Linked DNA regions of Homo sapiens: regions 2, 3 and 4 are each linked to region 1. The links are contacts of gene promoters, found by promoter capture Hi-C in blood cells and fetal thymus (Javierre and others, 2016). All regions are on one chromosome and are shown on one strand. Each heading gives the region's core, a stretch centred on a gene start or on the middle of the fragment in contact. The rest is flanking DNA. Distances are from core to core; before and after follow the strand shown.

Region 1 (4,451 bases), core at 1,196-3,695:
GGCACCCACCGCTGCCTGTGTTAGCAACAGCAGCAGCTGGCGTCTAGCAAGGGCTTCCTGGAGCCATGTGCTGTCCCCAGCCTTTGCAGGCCCCACCTCGGACCCTTCTCCCAACGACACTGTGCCGTAAGCACCATTATCAACCCCCTGTTACAGACGACAAAACCAAGGCTGGGGGAAGTTAAGAAAGTCACAGAGGGGACAGCTGGGCGTGGTGGCTCACGCCTGCAATCCCAGCACTTTGGGAGGCTGAGGCGGGCAGATCACCTGAGGCTGGGAGTTCAAGACCACCCTGAGCAACATGGAGAATCCCTGTATCTACTAAAAATACAAAATTAGCCGGATGTGGTGGCGCATGCCTGTAATTCCAGCTACTCGGGAGGCTGAGGCAGGAGAATTGCTTGAACCTGGGAGGTGGGGGTTGCGGTGAGCTGGAGATCGCACCACTGCGCTCCAGCCTGGGCAACAAGACAGAAATTAGTCTCAAAAAATAAAGGAAAGTCACAGAGGGGCAACAGCCATAGAGCAGTGGGGCCAAGATTCCAATCTAGGCAGGCTAGCGCTCTTGACGGTCGTACTAAGAATAAAAAAGGGGGGTGGGTGCAGTGGCTCACGCCTGTAATCCCAGCACTTTAGGAGGCCGAGGCAGGTAGACCACCTGAGGTCGGGAGTTTGAGACCAGCCTGGCCAACATGGCGAAATCCTATCTCTACTAAAAATACAGAAATTAGTTGGGCGTGGTGGCACACGCCTGTAGTCCCAGCTACTTGGGAGGCTGAGTCAAGAGGATCGCTTGAACCCAGGAGGCAGAGGCTGCAGTGAGCCGAGATCGCACCACTGCACTCCAGTCCACAGGTGTGGACCCCAACAGGAGGAATGAGTGTAGCTCACTCAGAGTCTGGGGTGGGCCAGGCTTTCTACACGCATCGTGTCATCCTTCCATGGCCCTGGAGAGAAAGTCTGGCCACCCCCATCTCGAGATAAGGACACAGAGGCTTGGGGGTGAAGACCTGCCGAGGCTCCACCTCAGCAAGCGTCAGTCGGACTGCATGCCTGGGGTCTGGCTCCTAAGCCCATGCTCTTTCAATGGCCCAAACATGGAATGCATGGAAGATTTCAGTTAGAAGAGAACTTGGCAGCTGCCAAAGCAGGCTCTCATTCTACGGAGGAAGCACCTGAGACCCAGAAAGAGGAAGGGCCTCGTTCAAGGTCACAAGGCACTGACCATGAAGCCAGGAGGGGCTGGCACGGGGCAGTTTCTTGGCAGAGCTGGCTGAGTGGTTTATTTGTTACAGGTTTGCTTGAAAGCGTTCTCTGCCGAAGAGTTTAGGAGCGATCGTGACTGGTTAGTGCAGCCCATTCCGCCGGGTCTGGATGGTGAGTCGTGCCAGTGTGTCCCGTGCGAACACGGACTACCCGCCTGCTCCCAGCATCTTGCCCTCCCCAGGACCCCTGAAACGGAGGCTAAATGATTCACCCAAGGTCACCAAATACAAGAGAAACGGAGTGTGGCCAGGCGCGGTGGCTCACGCCTGTAATCCTAGCACTTTGGGAGGCCAAGGTGGGTGGATCACCTGAGGTCAGGAGTTCGAGACCAGCCTGGCCAACATGGTGAAACCCCATCTCTACCAAAATACAAAAAATTAGCTGGGTGCAGTGGCGGGTGCCTGTAGTCCCAGTTACTTTGGAGGCTGAGGCAGGAGAATCACTTGAACCTGGAGGGCAGAGGTTGCAGTGAGCCGAGATCATGCCATTGCACTCTAGCCTGGGCAAAAGAGCAAAACTTCATCAAAAAAAGAAAAAAGAGGGCCGGGCGCCGTGGCTGATGCCTGCAATCCCAGCACTTTGGGAGGCTGAGACAGGCGGATCGCGAGGTTAGGAGTTCGAGACCAACCTGGCTAACACAGTGAAACCCTGTCTCTACTAAAAATACGAAAAATTAGCCAGGAGTGGTGGCATGCACCTATAGTCCCAGCTACTCAGGAAGCTGAGGCAGGAGAATCGCTTGAACCCGGGAAGTGGAGGTTGTGGTGAGCTGAGATCACGCCACTGTACTCCAGCCTGGGCCACAGAGCGAGACGCCATCTTAAAAAAAAAAAAAAAAAAACGGAGTGGAAATCTGAACCCATCTGGCTCGGGACGGTCTCTCCTCTCTCCTCTCGAAAGACCCCATCAGCTAAGACAAGGATCCAGTCGCATCTTAGGAAATTTGAGGCTCTACTTACAAGTGTTATTGCTGGTTTGCCATGCACAGGAACGCTGAGAACACCATCGCCCTGGCCTCATCGAACGACTCCAGAGAGGGGCCCACATCTGCTCAACCAAGAAGGAGAAAGCTGAGGTCTTCCAAGTGTTCCTCCCCAACATCTTGGGTCTGTTCCCACTGACTCCAGTCTGAAGAGGGTGATGTTCCCTGCTGTCTGTTCTCACTTTGATCAGGACCACTGTGGACTGGCGTGTACCCACCTCTTTTTGTAGAAACTCATCCCAACCCCTGAGCCTAATGGTTAAAGTTCAACCCATGCCTTTCCCAACAGGGTGGGTCCACAGGGATTAGTGGCCTCTGCTGGGGACAGGCCACTCAGGTCACTGGGCTTTGATCTGGCAAACAGGAGCACAAGTCTGCCAGGGAGCTAGAAAAACTGTACGGTGGGGCTGCGTGAGCACCAGGGGATTACGCGGGAGGCGGGGGCGAGTGGATGAGAGCAGAGTCCCTGTTTCTTTCATGGGGTTGACCGTGTGGTTTGGGGCTCCGGGACACTCAATACCAGGCACAAAGCCATGGTGTGCATGTGAGGAGGGACTGGCAGGCAGGCTCAGAAGTACAGGAATGGGACTGGCCAAAGCGCTGCTGGGTAGACAGGCCAGGGGAGCAGGGAGCTTCTGTCCACCCACCAGGGCTCCTGAAGTCATGGAGTCCTTGCTTGCCTTAAAATAGGTGCGATTTGATTCATTCATCCTCCCCGGAAGCAAGATGCCCTGTGGCTTCGGACACTTCCAGGTCATGCCTGCTGTCTTGGCATAAACATTAACAGGGCCACCTTTCTTTCTTTCCTTTTCTTTTTTTTTTTAGACAGAGTTTCACTTCTGTTGCCCAGGCTAGAGTGCAATGGCGTGATCTCGGCTCACTGCTACCTCTGCCTCCCAGGTTCAAGCAATTCTCCTGCCTCAGCCTCCTGAGTAGCTGGGATTACAGGCGCCCACCACCATGCCCAGCTAATTTTTTGTATTTTTAGTAGAGATGGGGTTTCACCACGTTGGCCAGGCTGGTGTTGAACTCCTGACCTCAGGTGATCTGCCTGCCTCGGCCTCCCAAAGTGCTGGGATTACAAGTGTGAGCCACTACGCCCAGCCTCTTTTCTTCGTTTCTTTTCTTTTCTTTCTTTCTTTTTTTGAGATGGAGTCTCGCTCTGTTGCCCAGGCTGGAGTGCAATGGCGTGATCCTGCCTCACTGCAACCTTTGCCTCCCAGGTTTAAGCAATTCTCCTGTCTCAGCCTCCTGAGTAGCTGGGATTATAGGCACACACCACCACAACGGCCAATTTTTTGTATTTTTAGTAGAGACGGGGTTTCACTGTGTTCCCCAAGCTGGTCTCGAACTCCTGAGCTCAGGCAATCCACCCACCTCGGCCTCCTAAAGTGCTAGGATTACAGGCATGAGCCACTGCGTCCAGCCTCTTTTCTTTTCTTTCTTTCTTTCTTTCTTTCTTTCTTTCTTTTTTTTTTTTTTTTTGAGGTGAGGTCTTGCTCTGTCACCCAAGGTGGAGTGCGGTGGTGCCATCATGGCTCACTGCAGTCTCAATCACCCAGGCTCAAGTGATCCTCCCTCCTCAGCCTCCCAAGTAGCTGGGACTATAGGTGCATGCCATTATGTCCAGCTAATTTTAAAAATTATTTGTAGAGGCAGGTTCTCGCCATGTTGCCCAGGCTGGTCTTGAACTCCTGGGCTCAAGCAATCCTCCCAGAGTGGCCTCCCAAAGTGCTCGGATTACAGGCATGAGCCACTGCCCCTGGCCTGGTACCTCCCTTCATGCCCAGGGTCCACATGGGTATGTTAGCTGGTCACTCTAGCCAGGCAGCTGGTGATATTTGCAGACGCCAACCCACAAAGAACCTTCCTTTGGGTCCTTTGAGCGGCACAGCAGTTTATTCACCCAGACACCTTTTACCTGTGAAATGGAACCCATGGGATTGGGATGCACCAGTTTGTGACTTCTTGTTGTTGTTTAAACTTACAATCTTTTAGGGGGCAGGGCTATCATAACTTTTCATAGAATCCTGGAATCTTAGATCTAGAAAACCCTACAGAACACAGGTGTTGAAATGCGAGTCCACTTGTAGGCTCCTGAAAGCCCAAGAATCCCACTGAAATCCCCCACACAATGGATAGGGTCTGCGGCTTTCGGCCACTGCTCTGGTGGGCCCAAGAGTTTGCTTGCATTTGTTTTGAG
Region 2 (4,650 bases), core at 1,794-4,293, 600 kb after region 1:
CACCCCAAACCTGACCAAGCGAGGCCCTGGAATGCAAGACGCAGAGGAGAATCTGGAAGACAGCCCAGCAGTGCCGCACAAACCCGCCATGCACCCAGACGTGCCTCAGTGTCCACACCTGTGCCGCAGGAGTGGGAGTTCGGGCCTGGCAACCCTTCCTGGGGGCTCATCTCAGAGGCAGCAAGGACCCTGTGACCGGGACCCAGACCTGAAGTCACCCCAGAGGGCCCCGCCACGGCCCGGACTCGAAGCTTAGGGCAGCACACTGAGCCTCACGAAGGGCCCTGCGCCTGTCCTGGCTTGCATAACCCCCTACTGTCCCCACCATGCAGGGCTGGGTACCGCTGCCATCGCCCGTCCCAGGTCATTGGCGTGTGGCCAGAGCCCGTCCCCATCGCACCCAGGACTCGCCTCGGGCACGCGTCTTCTGCACAGACCCTGGGGCCCCCACACCTGGCAGACGCCATCAGTCACCCCTACTCCCTCAAGCCATCACCCCAGTCTCCCCCCACCAGACCACCGCCTGGGCCTCCACCCTGTGCCTCCCCTGTAGCCGCTGACTCGGTGGTGGCCCAGGCCTTCTCCCGCCTCTCCCCAGGAAGCTGCCTGCCCTGCTCACAGACACCCCCTCGGCCCCCCAGCTGGTTCTCTGCTGAGCCAGGTTCAAGGCTCTGAGTCTGCCCTGGTCTCCCCTTGAAGTTCTCCCTCCACACTCCTGGGGTGGGCTCATGGTCTTCTCTCCACTAATTCTGTAGTCTAGCCACGCCTCCCCTGAGCCCCAGACCTGCAGACCTACAGCCCCTGTGTCCTTCCAGGCCCTTGATGTACCATGAGTGACTGTAACCCCACGCACCTGTAACTTCTGCCCACACCTGTGCAGGTGTTCCCCTCCCCCAAGCCCACCTGTCTCCCCACACCAGTGCAAGCACCCCCCTGGCTCACTGTCTCCTCCCCTCACCTGCACAGGCATCACCCCGAGCCCACCTGTCTCCCCACCAGCCCACCTGTCTCCTCCCCTCACCTGCATAGGCATCCTCAGTGGCCCCCTGCCCCTCAAGCTGGAGAGCATCAGCCTTGCCTATTCACCCTTCATTGTCAAAGCAATGCTTGATTTGTCCAAATCCCACCGCTTCCCAAACCCATCCACCATCGCCGACTCCCAGACCTGGGACTTCACCCTTGAGTCTCTCTGAACAGCCGCTTCCAAATCTCGAGGGTCCACTCCTCACACAGCTGCCACCGCTCCCCTCTCCCAGGCTCACCCTGCTCTGAGGCCCGTCCCCGCCCCCAGGTGCCTGTGCTTCGCGTAAAACCCCTTCTGTTACTGGCCCCATCCTTCAGAGGTCAGAAGTCCCCCTTCTCTGCCTCAGCACAGAGGAGAGGAGCCTCCCGTTGGCGGCCTGTCCCGACGGCAGCCCCTGGCCCTGCTAAGCCCACCACCCGCTGGGCTCCATGCTGCAGCTGGTTGCTCCAGGCAGTGCCTCCTGATGCCCTCTCTACTCCTCCGAGGCTGTCCTTGTCATCCAGCTCTCAGCTTAGGTGCCCCCTCAGACCTGTCCCTGGCTCACTTCCCGCGTAGGAACGGTCACTCTGCACCTCTGTCCCCAGCTCGCTCCCGTGTAGGAATGGTCACTCTGCACCTCTGTCCCCAGCTCACTCCCACGTAGGAACGGTCACTCTGCATCTCTGTCCTCTTGCCCGTCGCCTACTGGCCTGTCTCCTTTGAAAGCTGGGGCTGCGCCTGCTTGACCTCTGCCTCCCAGGCACCCACAAGTGGCCGACACAGAGGAGGGGTCTGCATCTGTTGAAGTCACAGGGGTGTGTGTGGACCACAGCCAGCCCCTCCCCATGCCCAGCAGTCAGTCCAACTGTCACAGCCCACTTTCCAGCCACACTGTCCACTCATGGCACACGGCCACCGTCACAGCCCACTCTCCAATCACACTGTCCACTGAGTCCCATGTGTGACCTGAGCTTCTTGGATCTCGGACCGCTGCATTCCAAGCTGCTCTCTCCCCACTCCTCCCCCCTCCCCACTCCCCCCAGCTTTGCCTGTGAAACTCCTTCTCTCCTCAAGACTGGCTTAAAAGGTCCCCCTCAGGGCCACCCAGCCAGGCTGTACCCGTCCCCTGCCCTGCACAGGATGGGCCTCCCGCCTCCACCCTCCTTCTTCCAGGAGGGCACCTGCTCCCTTCTACCTGAGCTGCATACAGCTCAAAGCCCCTTGCAGGCTGGCAACTCCCAGGCAGGGTCAGCCCAGCCTGCCGGGAGTCCCTCACGCTACTTGGGACACAACGTCCACGAGATGATGCAGGGCAGCCTCGCCCTCCTGAGGCCCCTTCCTCTGCCAGGCACAGGGTCTGTCCTCTCAGCCACACCATGGGCTGAGTGCCCTGACTGTGCACGAGGGCCCCAAGGTTCCATCGGGACACACCTCCTGCCCAGGCACCTGGCGGGCACAGCTGGGCCAGGACACATCCCTCTGCTGGCTTCCAGCACTCGGTTCTCGACCACCAGCCGTACTGCTGGGCACTGGCTCCCAGCCACGCCCTGGCTTACAGAAAGCTCAGGCCTAGCAGAAGCCCACCCCAGCCTGCCTGAGGAAGGGTGGGAGTGGAGAGGGCCCCCACTGCCGGCCCTGTCTCCCACACCAGGACACCAACATGCAGAGCAGGACATCACCTGTGGCTGGGGGGCTGCGTGAGCTGGCAACCGTCGGATGGGTCTGCTCTGAAAACCGGTCCCCACCTGTCCCCCGCAAGCCGACCCCTCGGGAGAGCCCAGCTTTGGAGTCTCAGGCAGAGCCTCAGGACGCCAGGAGGCAGCAAAGCCGTTGCACTCTGGCCTGCCCTGTATCTGCCGGGGCCTTGCAGAGGGGGAGGGAGGAAGATTGGGAGGAGGCAGCCTCACCCCCTCAACACCCAACCCCCTCCTCCTTGGAGGTGCCAGGGAGAGGTGAAGAGAAGAGCAAACCATGCAGCTGTGGACAGAACTCGCCTCGGGACCTCGGGCTGGGAGTGTCTCAGAGGTGAGCCAGGCAGGGGCAGGGAGGGTCGGGAGCTCCGGGCAGAGGTTAGGGTTAGGGCGGGACGCATGGAGGAGGGAGGCGCAGAGCAGGAGGTCTCGCAGCTTTTCGGAAGCGCATCCATTTCCACAGCGAGGGAAGGAGCAGGGGAGGTGACTGGCCACCCGGGAGGAGCTTGGCCACCAGACAGCCAGGTGGCCTGGACCTGGCGAGAGTGGCGAACCCGGCAGAATCCCAACCTCACAGGGCTGTTCCAGGCTGCTTCCAACACGACCCTGGAGGCACATCCTCTGATGCTGTCCTTGGGCAGGGAGCAGGGGGCTCCCAGGCACGGTGACTTGCCCAGGGTCACAGGAGTGACCACCAAGATGCAAGGGAAATACACAGCCTGAGCCCTGCCTTGCACACGGCGGCCCTCGCACCAGCACGGCCTCCCCATCTGGCACCCTCAGAGCCCCTCTGTCCCCTCAGAGCCCCAGGCCTCCCCAGCACTGCCCACAGACCTGCAGCAGCTTCTGTCTGGCTGCTTCCCTCCCTGCCGGCCAGGGCCTGGGAATCTGCATTTAACCAGCTCCCAGCAGTTTGCTCTCTGGCACGTGTGAGACCTGCACTCACAGCAGGTGCCCAGACCGTGGGCGCCGACCTCACTAGCTCACCAGCAGGAGCACACACAGCCCTGCTCACCAGGCCTTCGTCAGCTGAGGCAGGGGCGGGGCAGGGAGAGAGCTGGACCCAGATCTCTGCCCAAGGGCCGTGTCCTGCCCTGCGCGGAGTGCACACTTGGCCCTCCCCTTCTCTGACACTCCTGGTGAACAGGGTGGCGAGGGCAGTAGCCCCACCCTCGAACGCAGGGCATGGGCTGAGGCTGAAGGAATGCCTAGGAGAGTGTGGCGTGTGCAGGTGGGGGGCGGAAAGGGGCAGGGAAGGGTGAAGAGGACCTTGGTGTCCTGGCTAATCCGAGTCCTCCGTGTTGAACCCCAAACCCCAAGCAGCCGGGAGAAGCTGGAGCAGGCCTGGCACACACCCTAACTCCAGTCTGAAATTCTGGGCCCCTCCTGCACAGCCCAGATCCCCCCAGGAGGCCGCTGATGGCTCAAAGAAGGTCTCATATGCTCTCATGGGCGTATGCCACCAGCCTGAGGCAGAGACCCAAGGCCCACACGCCCGGCTATTGCCGTGAGCCGGCAGCACGTGGCCTTGATTCTCTTCCCGATGCAGGACAGGTGGGCCACGCAATTGAGGCTTAGCCAGGAAAGAATTCAAGGGCAGGCCAGGGTGTTAGACGGCAGCAGTCTGTTATTGAACAATTTTACTCCTTGCAGAGCAAGGCTAACTCCCTGGCAGTGCATCCAGAGTCCACAGTGCTCTTGGCAACTGTATTTATAACCACTTAAACCCCTCTTCAATTACATGCAAATTAAAGGGTGGGTTAATGCAAATTGAGGAGCAGGTTACTTAGGACTTTCTTTTTGTTTGTTTTGTTTTGAGACAGAGTCTTCCTCTGTCTCCCAGGCTGGAGTGCAGTGGCATGATCTTGGCTCACTGCAACCTCCATCTCCCGGGTTCAAGTGATTCTCCTGCCTCAGCCTCCCAAGTAGCTGGGATTACAGAAGCCTGCCACCACG
Region 3 (4,997 bases), core at 2,008-4,507, 520 kb after region 1:
CTGCATCTGTAATATGGTGGTAACTTGAGCCCCCACCCCAGCCAGTTGTGCAAAGGTGGCACGGACCTGGCACAGCCTGGAAGCACAAAGTCAGTGCTGTGCTGGTGATGCTGACACAGGTCCCGGAAAGGGGAGAGGAGGCTGGGGAGCTGGGAGAGGAGGCCATCTCAGAGTGCCTCCTCCCTTACCTCCAAATGTACAGGGTCGGCAACGCACAGGAGAACCTCCCCTGAAACCGACCCAGCATCAGGGGCAGGGCTGAGGCAGAGTAGAAGCATAGTAAGGCATTTGCCCCATCACACCCCTCTACTCCTAATAGAAGGCTGGAATTCCATGTCCACTGGCCCAGCCCACCCCTGCACACCCCCACTTCTCAAACCCCAAAAATGTCTTCTTTGGGCTGAGGTTGTTTTTGGAGGGGAGGCAGTCTCCAGGCCACTGCCAGACAGCACTTCCTATGTGTTCCAGGCCCTGCTCTCCCTGGGAGCCAGCAGGGGAGAACCCAGTGCAGCTCCTGAATGCAATTCCAACTTCCCCACCAGTGACTTTGGATGTGAATCTCAACACACCTCGAGAACATGCAGGGGCAGATGGAAACTGGGGTTCACAATGGGCAGCAGGTGGGGGGTGGAGGTCCTAGGTGGGCTCAGCCTGGACAGCCTCAGCAACCCCACGCCCTGTTCCTCTCCCACCTGATCAGGGACTCCTGGAAAGCCCCACTTGGATGTCACCTTCTCCAGAAAGCCTTCTCTGATTTCCCCAGGCAGAGATGGCCGCTCCTGCTCTGGGCTCCCCCAGACCATCCTCTAGACAGCATGCCTTGTGTCTCTTCCTCAGTGTATGGTTATCGTCATGACCACCCTGAGGGTTTAATGGTGTGTGCAAGGTCCTGCAGCTTTACCACTCGACATCAGCAGGCAGCCTCCCCTCTTGGCTGCGGTTTTCTCATCTGTAATAATGCCTTCCTCCGGGCAGGTAGAGGGACAGAGTGTAGAAGGAATGTGCTACAAAAGCAGCCCTGGCAGGGTTAGGGGACCTGTGACCGGTGCAGGGGCACAGGGCCCGAGCTGGGAAGGGCACCACACCGGGCTCAACATCCTGCCCTTGATGCCCTGGGGTTTTGGGGTTTGGGGGTTTTGATCAAGGGGGCTCCACATTTTCATATTTTCATTTTGCATGGGGCCTTGCAAGTGATGGAGGCAGGGCAGCAGGCTGTGGTCTGGACCTGCCGCCTGCCCCCTTCGCTGGCTTCCCTGGGCATGTCCCTCCATGTTTTCATCTATATATGGGCTCATAGAAATAAATCAGATCAGGCAAAGCAGCAGCCAAAATGATCCCCATCGTCTCCTCCTGCAGCCTAGACAGACATCAATCATGGATGATCATGGCTGTCTCCTGTTGACCCTCGGAATCCACCTCAACACAGATCTCCGCCCGTTCCAGCAGCGCCAGCCTGGGTGCCACTTGCTGTGCGTGGAGCTTCAGACCCAGCCCAGGTGCCAGCCCATGGCCACCTCCTCCAGGAACTCCCCTAACTCACAGGTCCACATACTCTAAAGTGGACTTCTTTGGGGAAGGAGGCGAGGCCTGGTGGGAAACCCAGACAGGTAGGTGCTCCATCCAGTTGACAAGCACTGGGTGGGGGCGGGAGGGTGGGGGGGAGGTCCTAGGTTGAGTGAACCAATCAGACATGGGCCCCACCCCCTCCAGAGAGCAGCTGTGGGAAGGCTGTGCCCACTGGACCCTGGCAGAGAGCAGGAAGGGCTGGAGGACCCGTATGCCCCTGGGCAGCTCTCTTGGCCTCCTGGTCTCAGTGTTCCTGTCTGTCCATGGCAGTGGGGAGGGACGGCGCATATCCAGTGTTGTACCCCTGCCTCTCCTACCCACCCGCCACTCTCCTGTACCAGGCTCTGAGGGTAAGCCCCCACTTCTCCCCTTCCTTGGAGCCAGGGAATAGGTCACAGAAGTTGGCACGAGATGGGGTCTTAGGAGCTCCCAGCAGGCTGGCGGGTGGTGTGACAGTCCTGCTGTGCGATGATCTCATCATCAGGTGGGAGGGGTCCTTCCTGTCTGCCCCTGGGCCCACTGACGCCCGTTTCTTATGAGTACGGGGGATGGGGGAGCAGGTAGCAAGTGTAGACCGAGAACATTAAAAGGAGATGATACAACTCAGCTGGGAGTGGGGGACAGCCCCCCAATGCGTGACCTTGAGCAAGTCCCCGAGCCTCCGTGAAGTGGGGCTCTTGAACACACCCCAGAGGGCAACAGTTCTCCATTTCCAGGCCTGAGCTGACAGCACCGCGCCCACAAACCTCGCTGACCTCTGACTGCTCCGAGAGGGGGCTGTGGCCCGGGCGCTGTGGGCAACTCCTTCGTGGGTCTCCTGCGGGGCGCCCTGGAGAGGCTCGGTGAGGAAAGAGGCCCCAAGTGGCAACGCCCAGGGCTGCCGGCTCCCGCGCCCCCTCCTCGATTTCCAGCCTGGTCTGAGCTCACAGGGGAAGACCCGAGATCCTGCTCTCAGTTGGCGGACCCCACCGCAGTCTGGGACGGAAGCCCCCTCCCTGGCCCGAATCCGCTCCACACCCCAAGTCTGGCCCAAGAGAAACGTGGGCGTCAAGGCCTCGGGCTTCCTGAGCCGGTTGTCACTGCCCCCACCGCGCACGTGGAGCGTGCGGCAGAGCCCAGGGGTCTAGGGAGGGACCAAGGGCTGGGGGCGGAGTTACAGTGCGGGGGCGGAGCCTCGGCGTCTCAGGACCCAACCAGGTCGGGTCAGGTTTGGAGGCGGAGCTGGCGCCGAGAGGCGGGGCGCAGGATGCGGTGCCGCGGGGCAGCAGAACAGAACCGAATAGGTCTCAGACTCCCAGCGCGGCCTGGGGACATGACCTCCGGGCCAAAGAGGAGTGGGGGAGGCTAGAGGTCTCCCCGGGGCGCGGGCGGGGCCGAACCAGGAAGGGGCGGGGCATCGAGCGGGGCGGGGACAGTGCCTTGAAGGCCCAGACGGACAGGGGCGGGGCCGCAGCGCTGGGGTCGGAGCCAGCGCCGTAAAGAGCGAGGCGGGCGGGGGCGCGGTCGCGGCTCTGGGGGCGGAGCCAGAGCAACGAAGAGCCGGGCTGGCGGGGGCGTGGCCGCGGCGCTGGGGGCGGAGCCGGAGAGGTGCAGGGCCCGGCAGGAGGCACGGGGCGGGGCCGGAGCGCCGGGGGCGGGGCGGGAGGTGCGGCGGCCGACGACGCTCAGGCCCGGCCCCGCCCCGTGCCTCCAGCCCGCCAGGAGCGCCCTCGCAGTGGCCGCCTGCTCCGCCGCTCGCCGCCCGCGGGTTCCATTGAGAAAAGCCGAGCGGCCGCGGCGGCGGCGGCGAGTGCGCGGGAGCGGAGGAGCCGGCACCCGCCCGTCGGGCAGTCCGCGCGCCCGCAACGCAGGACCGTGGCCTCTCGGGCCTCCGCGGCAGCTCCAGCGGCTCCGGGGCTGGGCGCGCGGGCTGGGGGCGCGGGCCGGGGCGGCCGCGGAGACCGGGGGCCGGGGGCATGAGCGGCCCCGCGGCCCCGCCGCGCCCCCGCCGCCCGCCGCCGCCCGCCCGGGGCTAGAGGCGGCCGCCGGGAGGGCGCGCGGCGCCGGAGACATGTCCAGGCGGAAACAGAGCAACCCCCGGCAGATCAAGCGTGAGTCAAACTTTGCCCGCGGTCCCCTCCGCGCGCCCGACCCCCGCCGGAGCCCAGCCGCCAGCGCCGCCCCCGCCCGTCCCCGCTCTGCCCTGGGCGCCGGCGACCTTCACCCCGCGCCGCGCCCCCCGCGCTGTGCCAAGCGCGCCGTAATCTAATCTCCGCCGGCGGCCTGGGCCCCCGCGTCTCGGCTTGGGCACCGGGGGGTTCAGCCCAGGAGGGGGCCGCCCGGAGGCCGGGAGGAGGGTGTTTGGGGGCGCGGCCCGGGCAGCTCGGCCCCTCGCGGCCTGCCCCTCCCCCGCATCTGCGAGATGGTGCGGCGATAGGGCGGCCCCGATCTGGGCTCAGATAAAGTTTAAAATATTACATTCTGCAAGTCCCGTCCTGATAAGATCGTTCTGTCGGGACGGGCTGAAATTGTGATCTTATCTCGCGCGGTTGACTCTCCCAGGCTTTGTATCTAGAAGCGAAGAGAGAGACCTGGGAGGCAGAGGGGACACCCGGGGCCGCGGAGATGCCTGGCCAAGTGGCAGGCACCGGCCCGCGCCCACCCCCACCGGTGCCGTCGCAGAGCCGCAGGACAGGGGAGGGGGTAGCGCGCAGCTGCCGCAGCCTAGGCACTTGGCTCCAGCCCCCCAGACACCCCCACCCCGTGCCCTAGCGCTGAAGTCCTGAACCCAGGCCCCGCCAGCCTGGTGACACCTCCTGGACCCTGCAAGTGTCCCAGCCAAGGCGGCATGGGCAACAAATGGTGCCCTCGGATGCCCGCGGGCACCCCCTGGCATCCCAATGGGCTGCTCTGAGTCAGAGAAGGGCCTCCCAGGACGCAGCCCCGGGCCGGGGTCGCCCCTGCACGCCACTAAGTTTCTCGCTGGTCCGGCTCCCTGCCCGGTCAGAGGCTGCTGCCCCGCCGCCACATTGCCAGTGCCCCCGCGATGAGAACTAAGCTGTCGGGGCCACTGTCTGGCCTGGGCCTCTGGGCTGTGCCAGGAGGGAGCAAGAGCACAGGAAGCTACCCTCCCCACCCTATGCCAATAATAACTTTGCGCCTCACAGTTAGGGCCCAGACGCAGGTCTTCCTCCCCGGGGCGCCTCCCCGGAGCCTGACGGGCAGGTCGTCTGAGCCCTGCCAGGAGGCCACGACGGAAACCCGCCCGCTGCCCAGCCGTAGGCGCCCGGGCACTACCTCCTTTGTCCACACGACCACTGCCACCAGGACCCCTTGTGCGGGGCCTGTGGGAGCTTCCCTACTCAGGAGGTCTCCCGAGGCGGGGGTCACAGGCATGAACCGGTTCCCGTAACCCAACTCCCTCAGCGCAAACGGGACCTGTTTTCCGAAAG
Region 4 (4,978 bases), core at 802-3,301, 540 kb before region 1:
AACAAATAAATAAAATAAACAGTGGTGTAATAAAGAACTACAACTAACGTCATTCTTCTGATGGTGGGAGTAAATTAATTATACAAGGATCTATGACAGTAGTTGGCTTCTCTAGAAGAAATCCCAACTGTATAAAAGCACTTTGAGAAATATATTTTCTTTCTTTTTTTTTTTGAGATGGAGTTTCGCTCTTTCCCCCAGGCTGGAGTGCAGTGGCAGGATCTTGGCTCGCTGCAACCTCTGCCTTCCGGTTTCAAGCGATTCTCCTGCCTCAGCCTCCCGAGTAGCTGGGATTACAGGCGCCTGCCACCACACCCGGCTAATTTTTGTATTTTTAGTAGAGATGGGGGTTTCGCCATGTTGACCAGGCTGGTCTCGAACTCTTGACCTCGTGATCCTCCTGCCTTGACCTCCCAAAGTGCTGGAATTACAGGCATGAGTCGCCGCACCTGGCGCGAGAAATATATTTTCATACTTTTTTTCTTCTTTTTTGTGGAGGACGGGGTCTTGCTATGTTGCCCAGTCAGGTCTCAAACTCCTGGGCTCAAGCGATCCTCCCAGCCTCTGCCTCCCTGAGAGCTGGGTTTACAGGCTTGGAGCCACCGCCCCCCGCTATTTTCATGTTTTGTATGATTCAAGCTTACAGTGTAGAGTGTATTAGCCTAATCCAATTACTTTATCCAATTGGGATAGAAGAAAGGCTTTTACAAAGTCAAAAGGAGAAATCCTGGAACTATGGGGCTCTTTCAAAGTATTAGATGTTAAAGAACAAAAACAGCCAAATAGCCGGGAGCAGTGGCTCACGCCTGTAATCCCAACTCTTAAGGAGGCCGAGGCGGGAGGGTTGCTTGAGGCCAGGAGTTCAAGACCAGCCCGGGCAACACAGCGAGATCCCGGCTCTACTCCCAGCTTCTCGGGAGGCTGAGGCAGGAGGATCCCTTGAGCCCAGGCGACCGAGGCCGCCGCGAGCTATGATCGTGCCACTGCATTCCAGGCTGGGCAACAGAGCAAGACCCTGTCTCAAAAAAACCCCAAAGAATCTAGTGCTGTTCCTACAGAGACACATTGGCCACAGGCTGAGGTGGGCAATAGCAACCAAATATCGCATGGTGGTTTACGCACTGCAGCCCATTTGGAGTCCTCAAATATGACTGCCCTTTCACAGATGAGTCTGAGACTCAAAAACTGTCACTAGCGTAAGGTTGTCCAGCGAGTTTAGTGGCTGGGAGGCTGAGGGGTAGACAGGGCGGCTAGCGATGTGGGGCAGGCCTGGCAGTCGCCACAGACGACCTAACGGTAGGAAAATCTTACAGCCACCAGGAGAGTTCCAGGCGCCGCGGCAGGGGGACTGGGAGAGGGGACTGCGCCCAGAATGAAGGCTCGGGACAAAAGCAGTTGCGCAAACGCGCCAAGGCTGGGCGTCGAGTGACCGCGGGCGGAGGTCACCAGCGGCCACTCCCCGGAAGCCACCCACGGACCACGCGCGCCCCTGCACGCAGAGGGGGCCAGGGCTCCACGGGCGAGCGGCGACCCTGCCTCCCGGAGACGGCGCGGCCTGCCCTGCGCGCCTCAGCCCCGGGTGCCGGCGTCTCGGGCAGCACCACCAAGTCTCTCTGGAGGGGAAAGGATGGTCGGATTTGCCCCATGTCCCTTCCTCTGACCCCTCCCTCAAGAGTGCCCCGGGACACCCCGCCTGTGGCTCAGCCTCCCCCGCCCCGCGCTGCCATCTCCTCAGGGCCGGGCAGCAGGCTCCCGAGCGCCCACAGACCCGGGGTGCGGCCCAGCCCACAACCGTCACCTCAGGGGCCTCAGGCGCCCAGCGGTGCTGGGCGGGGCTGGGGCACGACCGGGAGCATGCGCAGAGCGCGCGTTTCGCCCATCGCGCACGCGCACACACCTGCTCCGCCCCCACGCTGCGTGCCGCTGCTGGGTTCCGCCACGCCCGTCATGGCGGCGGCCCCGGCCGGCTCTGGCCCCGCCCCTCGGTGACGCGTCGCGAGTCACCTGACCAGGCTGCGGGCTGAGGAGATACAAGGGAAGTGGCTATCGCCAGAGTCGGATTCGCCGCCGCAGCAGCCGCCGCCCCCGGGAGCCGCCGGGACCCTCGCGTCGTCGCCGCCGCCGCCGCCCAGATCCCTGCACCATGCCGTCGGAGAAGACCTTCAAGCAGCGCCGCACCTTCGGTGAGTGTCGCCGCGAGGGCGGCGGGTGCGGCGGGGCCGGGGTCCGAGCTGTGGAGGGCGGCAGGGCCTGGGACGCCGTGAGGGGTCGGGGCCGAGCCGGGAGGCCGAGCGGGGCCGGTGGCTGCCGGCCGGCGGGGCCGAGGGATGCGGGGCCCGGGGCCCCGTGAGGGACCCAGGCCGGGACCGAGCCGGGAGGGCCAGGGGCTGGTCTGGGCCGGGGCGGCCTGCGGACCTCTCGGAGGCCTGGGAGGAGGCAGCCGGCGGAGGGCGGGCGGGGGCCGGTGCGCTCGGGGCCCCGGGCCTGCTGAATCACCCCGCGCCCTCCGCGGCGGGGTGCCTGCCGTACCCCGGCCACCGCCGCCCCCGCAAGCGCGCTGCGGGCGAGGGTCGCGCTTCTGGGGCCCAACAGCCCCCGGGGCCGCGCTGGGCCGTTCGGCTCTGAAGCGGGGCTGCGCCGGGACCCAGCGCGTCACCTTCAGGGCTGGTTTTCCCGTCGAGGGAGCCCGCCCGGGTGCGAGTGCCTCTTACAGACCTCAGTGCCTCGGTCGAGAGGAGGGGAATGTGCTGGGCCCCGGCCTCGCCGCGCCCGGGACGGCCCACAGCGGTGTTGCCAGTTCCTGTCTGTAGCCCAGGAGCTGGGGTGGGAGACTTCTCTTGGGTTTGCGATTACGTTCTCACCTTGGCACCAGGAATACCGAATACATCCCTTTTCTGCCGGTTCAGACTGGAAACCCAGCTTAGGTGTGCTGGCATTTGGTTAAACGTGCAGGTGTCACCATCACAATATTTACTCCACGCAGATGATGCGAAGTGATTATTTCCCGCTTGAGCAAGAGAACGCCGCAGATCCAGGTATCTGTTGTTGCCTAAGTTCCAGACACCGGTTTGGAAGGGAAGCACCGTGTTCATCGCGGTGGACTGCGAATGCCTGCCGCCATCCTCGTCAGGAGCCCACACAGTGGTGCTGTTTGTCTGCTTTTGCCTAGTTTCCCGGAGTCTAGAAAGAGTTTAGCATTCATTTGAGTTTGGATATAGTTTTGCAGGTCTCATTGACCATTATTTTTTTTCTTATGCCTGAGAAACTTAAGCAAATTAAAATGGACCTTAGCTTGCCAAGCATATCTTTTCAGACAGCCTCTTGAGGCAGTCCGTTGGTTAGCAAGACTTACACGTGCCTTTTTTGTTAGTAGTTTTCTTGTTAGTCACCTTAATGAACTCTTTACTGTAGTGTCTAGGCTTATTGAGCCCTGAGAGCAGCATTAAAGACAGATTTTCTTTTCTTTTTTATTTTGAGACAGGGTCTCACTCTGTCACCTGGGCTGGAGTGCAGTGGTGCAATCACAGCCCACTGCAGCCTCGACCTCCCGGGCTAAAGCGATCCAGCGGCCCCCCTCAGACCTGGCTTCTGTTTTCACCAATGAAAAGTTAACTGGGAACATTTATGTAGGAGAGATGCCCTTTTTCTCATAACAGAAACTATAGTTATTTTCTTTTTTGCTTAGTACTTTTGGGTTATTCTGGAAAAGTCTCTGCGAAGAGTGGGTAGTAAGGGTAGGAAATGTGAGACTAACACATCCGAACAAGGAATTTCCTGGAACCTAAAAGTGGCCCTGAGGGTAGACCAGCAATAATGCCCCATTTTTTTCCCATTGATGTATGGACCTTGTATATACTGTATTTTCAGGGTTTTTTCCCTTGGCTCACCTTTATTTTGCCCCCTCCCCTTTAAATATCTCTTTAATAGTCACTTTGTAGAAATGTGTCAAATATCTTAACAGCTGTTACCTTTCCTTGCTTCTGATTTTGGTAATTAAAAAAAAAAATCTTTCTAGTTCATGAATATTTTGGTAATGTTGATCATGAGTACTGACAGTTTTCAGACATGTGTAGCACAGTAAGTGAGGGAAATGAATCCTTAGAGAGAACCTCTTTATGGAGCCTAAGATAAGCCCCAGTTAGCTTGAGTGGTGTTTTCTCTTTCCAAGTGAGTGAGTTTAAGGTTAATACTGAATATAGCTCTGCTGATAAACTCTACCAGGATTGACAGGGTTCTCAAAGTTGAAATGGATTTTAAGGCTCACTGAAAACAACGCCTTCCTTTTGTAGCTAAAGAAACTGGGTGGGGCCTGGTGGTGAAGATCATGGTCCACCTAGTGGCAGAGTCTGGACTGGTACCTTTAACCTGGCATGAATTCTTCCAGTCTCCAGTAGGTAGCCATCATTTCCAGTATATTAAGTGGACCAAGACTGTGTGAGTCAGGAGACATAGTGTGTCCTTGGAGATGTGTTGGAAATATTGAATGAACTTCAAAAATTAAAATTGTGTGGGGCATGGTGGCTCACACCTGTAATCCCAGCACTTTGGGAGGCCAAGGCAGGATCGCTTGAGTTTGGGAGTTCAAGACCAGCCTGGGCAACATAGTGAGAGCTCATCTCTACCAAAAAAAGAAACCAAACAGACAAATAAGAGTTGTTGCTGTGTGGCCCAGGCCAGCTTTAACTATTGGCCTCAAGTGATCCTCCCACCTTGGTTTCCCAAAGTCCTGGGATTACAGGTGTGAGCCACCACGCCTGGCCTGGGGGAGGGGGAGTGCTTCAGTTTCTCTCTGAGAAGTAAATCCTGGAAAATCCTGGAAAAACTGAAATTTTACTTAAAATGACTGAAGATATCTCAAAACAACTTTGCAAAGAACGTGTTCTTAAAAATAGGACACCTTAGGCTCCTACCGTTTGTTTTAATGTTTGTAAAGGCTCTTAAGGATCTTTTTTGTTTTAGAAGAAAGGAATCTGGGGAA

The links. Contacts are between HindIII fragments. The CHiCAGO score rates a contact against its expected background, and 5 or more counts as called.
Region 2: a contact is called between a fragment that was not itself captured here and the fragment with the promoter of CA5A in region 1, in 2 of 17 cell types (total B cells and erythroblasts). The highest score is 6.1, in total B cells.
Region 3: the fragment with the promoter of ZFPM1 here is called in contact with the fragment with the promoter of CA5A in region 1 in 2 of 17 cell types (naive B cells and total B cells); the score reaches 7.1 in naive B cells.
Region 4: a contact is called between the fragment with the promoter of MAP1LC3B here and the fragment with the promoter of CA5A in region 1, in 2 of 17 cell types (fetal thymus and naive CD4 T cells). The highest score is 8.2, in fetal thymus.

The regions. Positions count from the first base shown.
Region 1 is chr16:87,934,084-87,938,534 of GRCh38, forward strand. CA5A (carbonic anhydrase 5A) reads right to left here and starts at 2,446. Exons shown (of 7, transcript NM_001739.2): 1 at 2,226-2,446. The coding sequence starts at 2,367. The HindIII fragment of the contact is 28,449 bases long and covers 1-4,451 here.
Region 2 is chr16:88,537,108-88,541,757 of GRCh38, forward strand. No RefSeq gene overlaps it. Among named protein-coding and RNA genes, the nearest start is that of ZFPM1-AS1, 8.4 kb to the left of the region's middle. RefSeq lists an enhancer at 2,587-3,189. The HindIII fragment of the contact is 5,589 bases long and covers 250-4,650 here.
Region 3 is chr16:88,450,023-88,455,019 of GRCh38, forward strand. ZFPM1 (zinc finger protein, FOG family member 1) reads left to right here and starts at 3,258. Exons shown (of 10, transcript NM_153813.3): 1 at 3,258-3,656. The coding sequence starts at 3,617. RefSeq lists silencers at 2,983-3,282, 3,293-3,382, 3,843-3,972, 4,193-4,262. The HindIII fragment of the contact is 8,831 bases long and covers 1-4,997 here.
Region 4 is chr16:87,390,285-87,395,262 of GRCh38, forward strand. MAP1LC3B (microtubule associated protein 1 light chain 3 beta) reads left to right here and starts at 2,052. Exons shown (of 4, transcript NM_022818.5): 1 at 2,052-2,183. The coding sequence starts at 2,144. It overlaps LOC124903747 (a long non-coding RNA gene), which reads left to right. Exons shown (of 2, transcript XR_007065168.1): 2 at 1-37. It also overlaps a transcript of FBXO31 not described here. RefSeq lists enhancers at 1,010-1,968, 3,185-3,234 and silencers at 1,485-2,134, 2,155-2,324, 2,435-2,564. The HindIII fragment of the contact is 5,617 bases long and covers 638-4,978 here.